Regions from separate parts of the Homo sapiens genome. Here region 1 is linked to region 2. Evidence: promoter capture Hi-C in human tissues and cell types (Jung and others, 2019). All regions are on one chromosome and are shown on one strand. The core of a region is centred on a gene start or on the middle of the fragment in contact, and the rest is flanking DNA. Distances in the headings are between cores, read along the strand shown. Region 1 has its middle 150 kb from the start of GALNT15. Region 2 holds the start of GALNT15 (polypeptide N-acetylgalactosaminyltransferase 15).

What was found. Contacts are between HindIII fragments. The study calls those that stand out against the background at their distance.
Region 1: a contact is called between a fragment that was not itself captured here and the fragment with the promoter of GALNT15 in region 2, in 4 of the 25 tissues and cell types used here (aorta, hippocampus, pancreas and 1 more).

The regions. Positions count from the first base shown.
Region 1 is chr3:16,026,272-16,029,232 of GRCh38, forward strand. No RefSeq gene overlaps it. Among named protein-coding and RNA genes, the nearest start is that of GALNT15, 150 kb to the right of the region's middle. The HindIII fragment of the contact is 5,694 bases long and covers 1-2,961 here.
Region 2 is chr3:16,173,144-16,176,080 of GRCh38, forward strand. GALNT15 (polypeptide N-acetylgalactosaminyltransferase 15) reads left to right here and starts at 1,537. Exons shown (of 10, transcript NM_054110.5): 1 at 1,537-2,547. The coding sequence starts at 2,009. The HindIII fragment of the contact is 4,561 bases long and covers 1-2,512 here.

The DNA.
Region 1 (2,961 bases), core at 208-2,707, 150 kb before region 2:
TGGAGCTGAGTTCCATGCTTGGTACATAGGAGGTACCCAAAGGTGTTGGTTAAAAGAAACAGTGAGAGTCTTGAAGGCAGTGGGTGGGGAAGAAAAAAAAGAAAAGGAGGAAGTCACATACTTAGAAAAGGCACAATGGTCAGTACTATACATCATCTTTTAAAATTTAAATCTTCTTAAGGTTCCTAAAGGTCTGTATAAAATACAGCAAGCTTTGATTTCCAATACCACAACCCATAAAAGCCCTTGATGGAGTAGATTTGTCTGGGGGTTCCATGTGTTTAGAGGAACAAGACGAGTCACCTGGTAATCATATCATTCCCAGTATTTGACATGTGTCTTGGGTGATGCACAGTGGCCAATCCTTCCTGTTTCCTTTATAACATTCATTGAATAATTCCTTGAATGTGGCAGGCACTGGATTTTCCATGCATCATATGTGAGGGAAGTGACAGTGGAACATCAAAAGCCCAGGAGAACTTACTCTCCTTCCAGCCCTTGCATCCTCCTGTGTGCCCTGGCTGCAGGCTCCTCCCCACATCCTTTTGGAGGGAACTGGATACCAGTCCTCTAGTCGGGAAGTATTTTCAGTTTTAAAACCCAGTCATTATTGACTGGCTGGCTGAGTTTCCTGTTCAAAAAGTGCACAATCACCCATCTCCCCAAAATATACGTCCAGCCAAGGATCAGATTTCCCTCAGCTGGCCAGCCACTTTTCTAAGATGAGCAGTTGCCAACAAACAAGCTTGGAAGCAAGCAAACAGTTGTCTTTTCTCCCTCACTACCTCTCTCCCGTCAGTCATAAACTCCAAGAAAGGTCAGCTGGGACCTGTCCAGCCTCCAGCCACAGCCTAGCACAGGGTAGACATGTCAAACAAAACAGGAAAAATAATTTACCTTGCCCTTGTCCTTTCCCTCAAGTTTTATTTTTATTTGCCATTGACTTGAGAGAGCCCACAATAAGAAAAAGAAATCAAGCCTAGATCATTGTCTCTTCCCTGGACTGTTGAACTAGACTCTGCTTTTGTCCTGGCCTCCTGCAAATCTTTTTTTTTTTTTTTTTTTGAGCCTCGCTCTTTAGCTCAGGCTGGAGTGCAGTGGCGCGATCTCAGCTCACTGCAACCTTCCGCCTCCTGGGTTCAAGCAATTCTCCTGCAATTCTCCTGCCTCAGCCTCCTGAGTAGCTGGGATTACAGGTGCATACCATCATGCCTGGCTAATTTTTGTATTTTTAGTGGAGATGGGGTTTCACCATATTGGTCAGGCTGGTCTTGAACTCCTGACCTTGTGATCTGCCTGCCTTGGCCTCCCAAAGTGCTAGGATTACAGGTGTGAGCCACTGCGCCCGGCCTCAAATCTATTCTTAATTCAGAGGCTAGAGGGATTCTGTTAAAAGGTACATCAGAAAATGCCATTCTTTTGCTCAGAACTCTCCAGTGGCTCTCCCTTCCACCAGAGGTAAAGCCAAAGCCTTCCAATGGCTAAAGGCTCTACATGATCAGCTCCTATCCCCCCAGCCCTTTATATATCTCATTTCCTACTATTCACTCCCTCCCTCATTCCTCAGCAGACACAATAATCTTGTTGTTCTTTGAACTCATCAGGCACCTCTCGCCTCAAGGCCTTTCCCCTCATTGTTTATCTGCCAAAGACACTCTCCCCCCGATATCCATGTGGCTCACTCGCTCACCTCCTTCATATCTGTGCAAACATCACCTTCTCAGCGAGGTCCACCCTGGCATGTATGGTACTATGCAGTGCTGCAAACTGCCTTCTTCCTCTCTATTGCTGTTCCTCGTCATCCTGTTCTATTATTTCCATAGAATGCATCATCTTCTAGCATAACATATAATTTATATATTTATCATATTTATAGTTTGTCCCTCCCAAGTAGAAATGTAAGCAGTAAGAGGACATAGATTTTTGTCTTTTGTGCCTATTTTGTCTAGAATAGTGCATGGCATATAATAGGAAGTCAATAAATATTTGTTTAATGAAGTATATTCCATTTAAGACAAAGAATCTGAGGCTGACTCTAAGTCACAAACATTATTGAGGCATTTTGGAGTAGACATCAGTTTCCTCCATGCTAGAAGCCACATTCATCAGCTAATCCTTGCTTCCCTTTCATTGACAGTGGGACTCAGGGGAGAAAGTTCCAGGGAGTTCACTGCAGAGCCAAGTAGATAGATAGCATTGGAATTTTCCTGCATTTACTTTTTCATCAAGGTCAAGAAGACCACGTGAAAACTCTAAAATGTGGTTTTTCAGTTAAATACATTGTCTTGAAAATGCCCTTTTGTTTGCATGATACTATATTCATGTGTCAAAACTTACAGAATAACTCTCAAGCAAGGAATTGGTGGTGGTGGTGGTGGAGACGGGGAGAGGGAGGTGCAGTTGAAGAGAAGGAATTTAGAAACATTGGCTTATTCATGTGAGCTGCTCTATTAATAAAGCCAGTGCCCCCTTTATAACAGGGAGCCCTGGGAAACCAAATAGAAAACTCCTGTTTTTAAGAGACAGACTAATTGAGTCATCGTCTCTGAATTCCCTCTCTGCTACTTCTCACTCAGACTGCTGATGATTTTATTTTTAATTTATCTAAGGGGGCTATGAGTCATTATTGAGATTAGTTTCCATAAGGTCCTCTATCACTAAACACTGTAACAACCTGCAGTAGTTATCTATTGCATAATAAATTACCCCAAACTTATTTGGTTAAGACAACAACCGTTTAATTTGCCTGCGATTCCATGGGTCAGGACTTTAGAATCCATTTAATCAGCTTACAATTCTGTAGGTCACAAATTCAGGGCTTGGCTGGGTGGTCTTTCTGCTCCAGGTGATGTCAGCTGGGATCATTCATTTGGCTGCATTCAGCTAGTGGCTGTGCTCAGCTCTAAGTTTGGCCTCATGCACATCTCTGCTGCTTCTGCGTTCTTGGGTTCCTCCATATGG
Region 2 (2,937 bases), core at 287-2,786:
CACTCCCTCAGTGATCTCAGGTCTCACGGCTTCAAACACTATCTGAGTGCTGCTGGAGTCCAGCTTTGTATATGCAGGCCAGACCTCCCCCTGACCTTCAGCTATCCTACAACTGCTGCCTTCACTTCATCTCCTCTTAGCTGTCTAGAGGACATCTCGAATGTCACATGTTCCAAATCAAGCCACTGGCATGCATTCATCTCCTTCCACCTTCTCTCCTTCCCCATCTTGGTTAATGGCAAGTCTATTCTTCCAACTACTCAGAACAAAAATTTGAACTCATCTTGACTCTTCTCTTCCTCTCACATTAGTCATTAATTCATCAGCAAATCCTATAGGTTCTTCCTTAAAGTATATCCACAAGCTGACCCCTGTCACCACCGATGCCACTTAGTGCAAGCCAAGAACCTCTTGGTTGGTCTCCCTGCTCCTGCTTTTTGCCCCCCACTGATTAGTCTCAACCCAGCAGCCAGAATGATCCAGTTAAAACCCAAGTCAGATTGTGTCTCTCCTCTAAGGGCTCCCCTCTCACTCAGAGGAAAAGCCAAAGTTCCTTCAATGCAACCAGGGGGTGTCCTGCATGGTCCTCCTGCCCCCCGCCCCCTTGCCTCTCTTATTCCACTTCCCATCAGGCTCCACCCTGCTCTCTTTGCTTCAGCCATGCCGGCTGTTCCTCAGACATGCCAGCATACTCTTGCCTTGGAACCTTCACATTTATCATTCTGTCTGCCCCGAACACTCAACCTCAAATAGCTGTGCAGCCCTCTCCTTTACACAAATGGTAACTCTTCCATGAAACCTTTCTCCACCACTCAATGTCCATTTCCAAGCCCAGCCCATGCTCCCCAGCCCCATCCCTGCTCTGCTTTTTTGCCTTCATCCTCATCACTATCTGACCCAGTGGATAGTTTTAATTGTATCTGTCACTAGAATGCAAGCTCCATGAGACACACATTTTTGTCTGTGTTATTCATTGCTCTACTTCCAGTTCCCAGAACAATTTTGGCACATAGCATGTGTTCATTAATTATGTGTTGGTTAAATGAAGGAAGCTTTATGAGGGAAAGAGCATGCCACTCCTCTTCCAGCGTCCCCCTTGGTGGCCAGGGCAGAGCAGGCATTCAGCTGCTCTTGTGGGAGAAGAAGGGACTTGCAAGATCATCTCCCTTAGCTCCCTCATTTTCAGGAGGCCAGGGACAGTGGTCCCCAGGAAGGGAAGGAGAGTCCAACCTAGTTTGCCTGATCCCCCATGGGAGGCTGAGGTTGCAAACAGACAGCTGCAGCTCCTTGCAGCTATGCCACACACACAGCCTTTCTGAATCAGAGGGTATTAGTCTTTCCTTCTGAACTCTTGGGATATTCCTGTTTTGATTTGGCTCTAGCAGTGACCACACCGAGTTGTGCAAAGCCTGGGAACAGTGAGGGCATTAGGACCAGGAGTGACGCGCACGCTTGGCTCTGGGTTGTGTCTGGCAGAGGGCTCTCGGCTGAGTGGAGCTATGTGTGAAAGGAAACCAGGCACTGCCTGCCGGCTTTACATCTGTTGATCTGACCTGACTGGAAGCGTCCAAAGAGGGACGGCTGTCAGCCCTGCTTGACTGAGAACCCACCAGCTCATCCCAGACACCTCATAGCAACCTATTTATACAAAGGGGGAAAGAAACACCTGAGCAGAATGGAATCATTATTTTTTTCCCAAGGAGAAAACCGGGGTAAAGGGAGGGAAGCAATTCAATTTGAAGTCCCTGTGAATGGGCTTTCAGAAGGCAATTAAAGAAATCCACTCAGAGAGGACTTGGGGTGAAACTTGGGTCCTGTGGTTTTCTGATTGTAAGTGGAAGCAGGTCTTGCACACGCTGTTGGCAAATGTCAGGACCAGGTTAAGTGACTGGCAGAAAAACTTCCAGGTGGAACAAGCAACCCAGGTTCTGCTGCAAGCTTGAAGGAGCCTGGAGCGGGAGAAAGCTAACTTGAACATGACCTGTTGCATTTGGCAAGTTCTAGCAACATGCTCCTAAGGAAGCGATACAGGCACAGACCATGCAGACTCCAGTTCCTCCTGCTGCTCCTGATGCTGGGATGCGTCCTGATGATGGTGGCGATGTTGCACCCTCCCCACCACACCCTGCACCAGACTGTCACAGCCCAAGCCAGCAAGCACAGCCCTGAAGCCAGGTACCGCCTGGACTTTGGGGAATCCCAGGATTGGGTACTGGAAGCTGAGGATGAGGGTGAAGAGTACAGCCCTCTGGAGGGCCTGCCACCCTTTATCTCACTGCGGGAGGATCAGCTGCTGGTGGCCGTGGCCTTACCCCAGGCCAGAAGGAACCAGAGCCAGGGCAGGAGAGGTGGGAGCTACCGCCTCATCAAGCAGCCAAGGAGGCAGGATAAGGAAGCCCCAAAGAGGGACTGGGGGGCTGATGAGGACGGGGAGGTGTCTGAAGAAGAGGAGTTGACCCCGTTCAGCCTGGACCCACGTGGCCTCCAGGAGGCACTCAGTGCCCGCATCCCCCTCCAGAGGGCTCTGCCCGAGGTGCGGCACCCACTGTAAGTAAGGCCCTTGTTTTCCCTTCCCTGATCCCAGGGCATGATCGGGTGGTAGCAAACTCGGGAATGCAAACTTTCCGTAGCCTGCCTCTCCTGACTTAGAGCAAGTGCTTTTCAAGATGCAGTACCTGGGCCAGCAGCGTCAGCAGCCCCTGGGCACTGGTGGGTTCTCAGAAATGCAGATTCTCAGACCCCATCCCAGACCTGCCAAACAAGAAACTCTGGGTGGGGTCCAGTGGTCTGTATGAACAAGCCCTTCAGGTGAGAATCATTGTCCTAGAAAGCAGAAAGTGAGGACTCTTGCTTGTTCATTCTCTTCTCCGTCCTGGGTTCTAGTTCTTCTGTCTTTAGGTCAAATGGCTTTATTTCTATAACACAGAAGGGAGGTTA